Linked DNA regions of Homo sapiens: regions 1 and 3 are each linked to region 2. The links are contacts of gene promoters, found by promoter capture Hi-C in blood cells and fetal thymus (Javierre and others, 2016). All regions are on one chromosome and are shown on one strand. The core of a region is centred on a gene start or on the middle of the fragment in contact, and the rest is flanking DNA. Distances in the headings are between cores, read along the strand shown.

Region 1 (3,158 bases), core at 401-2,900, 330 kb after region 2:
GGCAGAAAGCGACAAGAAAGGTGAACAAGAGGGAACCTGAAAGCTGAGAAACTGCCCCTTAAGAGTTGCCTAGACAACCAGATCTGGGAGTGAATGGTGTCTGGGCAGGTGCTTGTTAGTATGCATGGTGAGATGTGTATGTATCTGAGGACCTTTGGAAGCACAGATGAAGACAGGAAAATGTTGAGACGTAATGGGAGTTAAAAGTTAAAAACGAGGACCTCTGAAACTCAGAGTTGCCATGTCACTCCTAAAGACGCAGTCAGATCTTCCTGCATTCTTTTCTTCTCCCATTGTACCTAGGCAGGGCCGGAGGTGCCCCGTGGTGCATGCTACCTACTTATGAGAAAAGAATCTGCATTTGTTGACAAGTGACCAAAAGGGGGTGACTCCTGTTCCATAGTCATGTGGGTCTTCTTCCCAGAATGCCCTGAGAGTAGAGGCCCACACACGAGATTGACACTGCTCTTGTGATGTGAGAGTGGTTCACACACCCCTGAGTGTGGGAATCAATACCCATGGGGTGAATTTTCTGTCCTATGAAGCTCTGCTTGTTCACAGTGTGGTCTACACATCCAGGAAGATTTGTAACAAGCAAAGAAAGAAAACATTTGCAATATTCGAAGAGCTGTGTGTTCCATACTGCTGCCCAGGCATCAAGCAGCATGGGTAGCATATGTAACCTTTAGAGCAACGCGGTCATGGCTTCGCATCCCAAAATGGGCTCTGTATGATGGCCCAAGTGAGGCTTTCTTATGTCTTCCTGGAGACCCTAAAGGGGCAGCATAATTTGTCCTCGACTGTCTCATTCATTTTTCTGGATGAATATCCGGCAAGCACCAGAGTTTAGCTTGAGGACCTCAGAGAGCTCTGTATCAAACAAAGGCACAGACACTCCACCACACCCCCCACCAACACACTCCAGGCTCAACCTCCATTTCGACACGCAGAACAGGAACAAAGATAGGGCCCAGGAGAAGGCAAGCACTGTCTGGGCTCTGGCTACCCATGCACATGGGAAGAATGACCAAGATGCCAAGGCAAATAACTGGTGAACCACCACGTTCCAGTGAGCATGCACGCTCAGTAAGACATGACAAGTGGCTCTCTCTCCAGGAGAGCCACCTGTGAAAAAACCTGGAAAATCCCTCCAACCCCTGGACCCCTATGAGTGCCTGGGCTCCAGAGAGAGAGGTAGCTGAAGGCCTCGAACAGGAGTCAGTCCCATGCAGTCCCATCTCAACAAACATCCGACCCAACTCCCTGCTGCTCCATGGCTCAACAATGTGTGGATGCCTGTTGGACCTGGCTGCTTTCCATCCAAGATTTTGTCCCTTCCCCAAGAGGAAGAGTGCTACCTAGGGACAAGTGTGGTGCATGCCATCATGAGGCCTGGTCTCTTGCTTTGGGGACCTGGGCCAATTCCTAGAGGAATCTGCAGTGGCCTGCATGCAGGCCCACACACTCACACATCCCTCTCCTGTACCCCATCATACTGCCCCCAGTACAACCTACCCCCACCATGACACAGCCCTAAGGGTGGGATTTCATGAGAACAGACTCCTCTGGTTCACTGGGTACCCTGCCCAGAGAAGAATCCAGAGGGAAGGAGGGAGGCAAAGAACCTCCTACTGTTGCAGGTTCCCCCAAAGTGACCACGTAGGTGGGGATCCCTGCTGTAGGTGAGGTGGGTGATCCTTGGCCAGTTTCTTCGTTGTTTCTTTGCTTTTTGTTTTTGGCATTTGTTTTATTCCGTTGGCAGCAAATGGAGAAAGACAAGGCAAGGTGGGGGAAGGAAAAGACGTGACTGCCATTTGCGGAGCCACAGTGCCACCCAGAGGAAGATGTTTCTGAACATGACAACAGGCTGCAGGGACACTCGCCTTCTGCCAGGCACAGAGATCAGTGAAAATGTGCGGGGCTGGGTGGACTCTGCTTAAGCCAGGGTTTCCCCAACTGGGGTTTAGAGCCCTAGAACAAAGAGTGCCTGCCACTGGGACCCCTTGGAGAAGCAGTTACTCTAGAGGCCCTGACACAGGGCAGCCAGGCAGCCCCAAGACGAGTCAGTCCACACAGTGAAGCTGCCCCCCAGCCATTTTGAGATACGCATAAGGGAAGCCACTGGCCACTGACAGCCAGAGAATGAAGTGGTTTACTCTGGTTTCTTCTGTGGGCAGTTACAGCTTGCCCTCCTTGGCTGGGGCCACAGTAAGGCCAGAAGGCCCCTATCTTCCTGGTAAAAAAAAAAAAAAAGGAGCTACGGGGTGCTGAGTGTGGGGCGACTCATGCCCGGCAGTTCCTGGAAACTGCCAGGGGAAGCCATGGTGGGCTGCCCCAACTGCCCTTTCTTACATGCAGCTGTGGAGCCAGGGCACCATCCTGGGAATGAGCCCAGGCCAAGGGCCAGTGAGGAGCTCCTCTCTCATCCTGCTTCAGTCTGGGGGCCCCATGCCACCATCTGTTTTGTGCCCCTGGGCTTTCCCCAGCACTTGTGCCCAGCTCCCTCCCATTTCCAGAAACAGTTTCCACTTGATGGCAGTATGGCTCCACAAATGCCAACTACAACCATAACCTTGCTTCTCTAAGCTGATGGTCTCTGCCTTCTCCCATGTGAATAAAGAGGAAGGAGAAAAAAATAAAAAAGATAAGGAGAAGAGAAAGGAACAAGCCACCTGGTCCCAGGCTGACAACCAAACTCAGGGGACTCTAGCACCAAGGACCAGTAGCCTGGAGACCCTGCGGGAATGCTATGGAGGCAGCCAGCCTTTGCCCTTCCTTTGGTCCTCTCTAGGTTTCATGGCTCCCGCAGGTGCAGAAAGTAAAAGACAAAGAACACATTATCATGGCCTCTGGGAAACCACAGGAGGACTGGGATCATAGGGCTGCAGCTCCAGGACGAGGCGCTGGCCACTCGGCTGTCTTATACAAGGATTTGCCCCCAGACTAGGAGACTTCCCAAGGCCTGGAACTGCAGGTAGAGTTTGCCAACTTGGGATCATAAATGGAGGTCACCAGAATGGGCCACTGGGGCCACCCACTCAACAGGCAGCTACAGGGCCTGAGGCCAGAGTCTCCTCACAGGGGACACTCAACACCTCACTCAAGTCTGACTCTGCTTTCACACAGGCAAGGGTGAGAGGAGGGTGGCACAGGTTGGC
Region 2 (3,051 bases), core at 151-2,650:
TTCCATAAAAATTGTATAAACTTTCACTTGCATCAGCACTAGATATGAAGCTTTTTCATGATCAATGACATTAAGTAATATTTTAATGTTCTTTCATACTTTGACTGTTGAATCGAGATTATTATTACTTCTATTTTTCCTTGTAGATGTTATTTTATTAAGTGTAGTTGTTCTGTTAACATCCGACTCATCCCCTCATTCAAATACCATAAGTATCTGAATAAGAAAGATACCATTAAGCATTGTTTTGTTTACAGAGTTTTTGGTTGGTTCATTTGCTTTCTGTTCAATTTTATTTTGCTGCTTTTTACCTTTTAATAAATCAAATATTGATACTGGTACAACATTAGTATACAACCTTTCTCAAAATATTTAAATAATTATTTCAACATTCCTTAAAGAATACCCAACGTTTCTCCACTGATTTATAAAACTATAACTTTAATTATTTCTTATAAAGTTATTTTTTTGCAAAGCTTTCTATTCCGATACATAGATCTGATTACTGGTTATTGTGGAAATATTATGTCAAATGCCCAGTACTGGGAGAAAAGCCAAATTATAAATCACTTTAAAATTGAGTTTTACGGACCAAGTGCAAGATATGTAACAGGTGCTCAATAAATATTTGTTGAATGAAAAAATCGATTAGAAAACATCTAATTTCCTGGAAAAATTAATAGACATGAATTGCAGATAAAAAACAAATCCCAGTTTTGCAAAAGTTTAGGAAAAAGGAAAAAAAACTATGAGCATTAATATTTTGCTGTGAGGCCCTCAAAAATGGGAGATGGGACTGCAGTTGATGATTTTCCTCTTAATATTAATTTCCTAAAATGTAGATAGTGTTCACGTTGTACATGCAATTATCTTGCAATAAAGAAAAGGAAAAAAAAATCCCTCGAAAACAAAAACAAAAATGCCAGGAAATATCAGTCAGCAAAAATTAGGTAGAGACTGGGTCAAAATGGCAGACTTACCATAGTGAATTTCTCTGTTCCAACTCCAAATCCTTTCAAAAAGAGGAAAGACATATTTACGTGTAAAGAATAAATCCATAAGGGCATGGGACGGTGCAGGGGCAGGGGTGGGCGCGGGGGTGGGCGCGGGGCGGCAGCAAGGCGAATTCCAAGAAGATGGAAAGCAGGGCAGGCAGACTAAGAAGGTGGAGGTGGGAACCAAGTGGCCCTGAAACGGGTGAGGAAGGGGCCACAGGGTTCCGAGGACGACTGTGGCACGAACTACTCCGGATTTGGAAAGAGGCGGAGTCAGAGCCCATAGCTCCGCCGGGGCTACAGGCTGTGTGGTGGGCGTGGGAGCCTGGTGGAGAGGAGAGCCGGGTGTTTGACAGGAAGAGGAGGCCTCTCTCTGGGCAGGAAGCTGCGCTACGGAAAGAGGGAGGAGACTGCCGCGGCGACAGCAGGGACTGGTGGAATCCCGATGTGGCTGAGGGGCCGCCACCGCCAGCAGGGAGGCGGAGGGCTAGCGAGCCAAGCGGTGGGGACGCCGCTGCCTTCCTCTTTGCCTGTCTCGCCGCCCTCCTAGACACGCTCCTCATCTACGGATCCTACCCTCCCCGCTCTTGCAAGCATTCACTCGGCCGGTCGCCTGCTGACCCTCCTTCGCCACAGGCTCGTAGCGGAGGCAGCAGCGAGGTGTCCGATTTGGGCACGTGAGGCCCGCGATCCCCGGCGGTGGACGCCAGGCAGGGCAAGGCCATTAGTGGGCGCCAGAATGGAGAGGGGGATGGGAAGGAATCCAGCAGGAGACATGGGGTGGAGTTGGGCGCCAGGCAAGGGTGGGGTGGGGGAGTGCGGTGAGCAACATGAAAAGGGGGTAGGAACGGGAGCCAGACAAGGATTTGAAGGTGAGCGCCGGGAAGCAAGGGCGGTGGGTACCAGAGAAGTGGTTAGGGTAGGCAGGGGGTGTTGTGGACAGCAGCTGGGACGCTCAGGGAAGGAGGGCAGTGGGTGCCGGTCAAGGCCTCTTTGCAAGGGGATTGGAAGTGGACGCCAGTGGTAGCAAGGGGTTCCGGGAGGGCAGTGGGCTCTGAGCTAGGAGGAGGTGGCCCAGCCACTTCTGCAGAGTTCCTAACCCCAGACAGCTCTACTGCACCACCCCAGCCCTTCCCCACAGCCCAAAGGAACTTAAGAGGGAGAGCACTGCGGGCATGCAGCCAGGATTTCCAGCATTGCTTCCAGGCTCCTAGGGGAAACTTAGGCACTAGCGCAGACTACATCCAGACATGGCTATAGGGAAAAGTTTGCCTTGTGGCACACTGGGTGTGTCTCTCTATCCTCTCTCCTCCCCCAGCAGGCATGAAGACCCCCAACGCACAGGAAGCCGAAGGGCAACAAACCAGGGCAGCTGCAGGACGGGCCACTGGGTCTGCAAACATGACAAAGAAAAAAGTCTCCCAAAAGAAGCAGAGAGGCCGACCTTCATCCCAGCCCCGCAGGAACATCGTGGGCTGCAGAATTTCTCATGGATGGAAGGAAGGAGATGAGCCCATCACGCAGTGGAAAGGAACCGTTCTGGATCAGGTGCCTATAAATCCCTCTCTTTATCTGGTGAAATATGATGGAATTGACTGTGTCTATGGACTGGAACTTCACAGAGATGAAAGGGTTTTGTCTCTTAAAATTCTTTCTGACAGGGTGGCATCATCTCACATTAGTGATGCCAACCTTGCAAATACCATAATTGGCAAAGCAGTGGAACATATGTTTGAGGGAGAGCATGGTTCTAAGGATGAATGGAGGGGGATGGTCTTAGCTCAAGCACCTATCATGAAAGCCTGGTTTTATATTACCTATGAGAAAGATCCTGTCTTGTACATGTACCAGCTTCTAGATGATTATAAGGAAGGTGACCTCCGCATCATGCCAGAATCCAGTGAGTCTCCTCCAACAGAGAGGGAGCCAGGAGGAGTTGTAGATGGCCTAATAGGTAAGCATGTGGAATATACCAAAGAAGATGGCTCCAAAAGGATCGGCATGGTCATTCACCAAGTGGAAGCCAAACCCTCTGTGTATTTCATCAAGTTTGATG
Region 3 (3,002 bases), core at 140-2,639, 300 kb after region 2:
AATGCATCTTTCTTTATTTGCTACACCCAGGTGCTGTAATCTCTCACTTGGTTTCTTTAGGCCTTGTAAAGGTAATTTTGCGCATGAATAGTTGTTCAAATGGATACTTCTGCAAGGTTATGAGTGCTGAAGAATTCCATTTTGCCATCTTGCTGCATAGGAATTTAATAAGTTGGGAGAGGCTGGCCAGGCATGGTGGTTCACGCCTGTAATCCCGGCACTTTCGGAGGCCAAGGGGCGGGCGGATCACCTGAGGTCAGGAGTTCGAGACCAGCCTCAACATGGAGAAACCCTGTCTCTACCAAAAATACAAAATTAGCTGGGTGTGGTGGTGCATGCCTGTAATCCCAGCTACTCGGGAGGCTGAGGCAGGAGAATTCCTTGAACCTGGGAGGTGGAGGTTACAGTGAGCCAAGATTGCACTATTGCACTCCAGCCTGGGCAACAAGAGTGAAACTCCGTCTCAAAAAAATAAAATAAAAGTTGGGAGAGGCTGCCTTGGGAGGTGCTAGCCAGACATCTATTGTTTTAAACAACTTGAGATATGCACATATAATACAATCCGTGATTTAAAGTGTACAATTCAATGGTTTTGGATATTTATAGATAAGCATAGATATGTGTAAATATCACTACAGTCAATTCTTATGCATTTTCATTAACCCTGAATAAAATCACACAGTCCTTAGACATCAATTCTCAATCATAACTTAAGGGAAACTCCATCCTTAAGCAAATATTTTTTCTGAACCTATAGACTTGCCTCATGTGGACATTTTATTTATATGAAATTATATAATATATGGTACTGTGTGACTGGCTTTTTTCACATAGCATAATGCTTTTGCTTTTCCCAGACCACCAGGCAAGAATTATTTTCCTTTTTTTTTTTTTTGGCATAATGCTTTCAAGGTTTATTCTGGCAGTATGTATACTTATTTCCTGTATATGACTAAATTAATATTCCATTGTGTGAATATACATTTTGTTTTCCATTCACCAGTTGATGGGCATTTGAGTTGTTTCCACATTTTCCTAGTACAAATATTTCTGCTGTAAACCGTCCTGTACAATTTTTGTTTGAACACCTGTTTTTTAGTTATTTTGGCTATGTATCAGGAGTAAAATTGCTGGGTAGCATGTTATTTCTTTTTTTTTTCTTTTTTTTGAGATGGAGTCTTGCTCTGTCATGCCCAGGCTGGAGTGCAGTGGTGGGATCTCGGCTCACTGCAACCTCTGCCTCCCAGGTTCAAGGGATTCTCCTGCGTCAGCCTCCTGAGTAGCTGGGCTAATTTTTTATATTTTTTAGTAGAGATGGGGTTTCACCATGTTGGTCAGGCTAGTCTCGAATTCCTGACCTCAGGTGATCCATCCACCTCAGCCTCCCAAAGTGCTGGGATTACAGGTGTGAGCCACCACGCCCAGCCATTATTTTTAACTTAGAGAGGAACCACAAAATTGTTTGCCCAGTGGCTGCACATTTATCATTACCAGCAACAATGCCGCATGTTCCTGTTTTCCCACATTCTAACATTTATTATTTTGCTATTTAAAATAATAATAATAATAAGTATCCTACTGGGTATAAATTGCTGTCTCTTTGTGATTTTGATTTGCATTTCCCTGATGACTAATAGTGTTGAGCATCTTCTCATGTGTAATTTGTGATTTGTATGTCTTCTTTACAGAAGAATCTATTCAGATCCTTTCGTTATAAAATTGGTTTATTGTTTGTTTTATTATTTAGCGGTAATTACTGTTTATTTTATTTTATTATTTTGTTTTATTTTTTGAGATGGCGTCTTGCCCTGTTGCTTAGGCTGGAGTGTGCATTGGTGCAATTTTGGCTCACTGCAACCTCTGCCTCCCAGGTTCAAGCTATCCTCCCACCTCAGCCTCCTGAGTAGCTAAGATTACAGGCATACACCACCACACCCTGCTAATTTTTTTTGTGTGTGTATTTTTAGTAAAGATGGGGTTTCATCATGTTGGCCAGGCTGGTGTCAAACTCCTGACCTCAAGTGATCCCCCTGCCTCAGCCTCCCAAAGTGCTGGGATTACAGGATGAGCCACCATGCCTGGTCTTATATATTTTAGATACAAGTCATTTATGAGACATATTATTTGCAAAAATAATCTTGCACTGTGGCTGTCTTTCAAATTTCTTGACTGTGTTCACTGAAGCAAATTTTTTTTCAATTTTAATTATGTCCAGTTTATCTTTTTTTTCCTTTATTAACTTGTGCTTTGGTGTAAGAATTAAAAATCTAATACTTAATTCAAGGTCACAAAAATTTATTCTATATTTCCTCCCAAGAGTTTTATAGTGTAACCCTTATATTTGAGTCTTTGGCCTATTTTGAGTTAATTTTTGTATTTTGCATGAGGTAGGGGTGGAAGTTTTTTGTTTTTTTGTTTTTTTTTTGCATGTAGATACCAAGTTGTCCCAGTACCATTTATTGAAAATAGTTATTTCCCCTTTTGTCTTGCCTCCTTCTCAGAAGTTAATTGGCTGCAAATTAACTTTTGTGAGGGCTTATGTCTGGACTTTGGATTCTATTTCATTGATCAATATTTATATCCTATGCCAGTACCACATAGACTTGTTTATTGTAGCTTTGTAATAAGTTTTAAAATTTGGAAATGTGACTCTTCAAACTTTGTATACTTCAAGATTGTTTTGGCTATTCTGGGTCCATTACATTTTCATATGAACTTTAGAATCAGGTTATAAATTTCTTCAAAGTAGGCAACCTTAATTTTGATAAGGGTTGCATTGAATAGTTTGATTATTTTGAAGAGTGTTGTCATCTTTATAATACTGTGCCTTCTGATGCATAAAATGCCTTTCACCAGATGTCCTTTTAAAGAAGTCTGTGTTTACTGTTTGTGATGTTCAGCCTGGCTCAGAAGTTTTAAAACTCTAATGTGTGATTAGTAATATTATACAATCTTTAAAATAACTGTCTATAATTTATTAAGTGTGCATAACATAACTCTAG

What was found. Contacts are between HindIII fragments. The CHiCAGO score rates a contact against its expected background, and 5 or more counts as called.
Region 1: a fragment that was not itself captured here is called in contact with the fragment with the promoter of SPIN2B in region 2 in 5 of 17 cell types (M0 macrophages, fetal thymus, non-activated CD4 T cells and 2 more); the score reaches 9.4 in M0 macrophages.
Region 3: a fragment that was not itself captured here is called in contact with the fragment with the promoter of SPIN2B in region 2 in 2 of 17 cell types (total CD8 T cells and non-activated CD4 T cells); the score reaches 5.6 in total CD8 T cells.

Annotation. Positions count from the first base shown.
Region 1 is chrX:56,787,711-56,790,868 of GRCh38, reverse strand. All of the region lies in intron 2 of NBDY (negative regulator of P-body association), which reads right to left. Among named protein-coding and RNA genes, the nearest start is that of NBDY, 60 kb to the right of the region's middle. The HindIII fragment of the contact is 4,764 bases long and covers 1-3,158 here.
Region 2 is chrX:57,119,897-57,122,947 of GRCh38, reverse strand. SPIN2B (spindlin family member 2B) reads left to right here and starts at 1,400. Exons shown (of 2, transcript NM_001006681.2): 1 at 1,400-1,710; 2 at 2,317-3,051. The coding sequence starts at 2,319. It also overlaps a transcript of FAAH2 not described here. RefSeq lists a silencer at 1,113-1,232. The HindIII fragment of the contact is 2,706 bases long and covers 479-3,051 here.
Region 3 is chrX:56,818,409-56,821,410 of GRCh38, reverse strand. NBDY (negative regulator of P-body association) reads right to left here. Exons shown (of 3, transcript NM_001348129.2): 3 at 2,232-3,002. Among named protein-coding and RNA genes, the nearest start is that of NBDY, 91 kb to the right of the region's middle. RefSeq lists a silencer at 961-1,255. The HindIII fragment of the contact is 3,504 bases long and covers 1-3,002 here.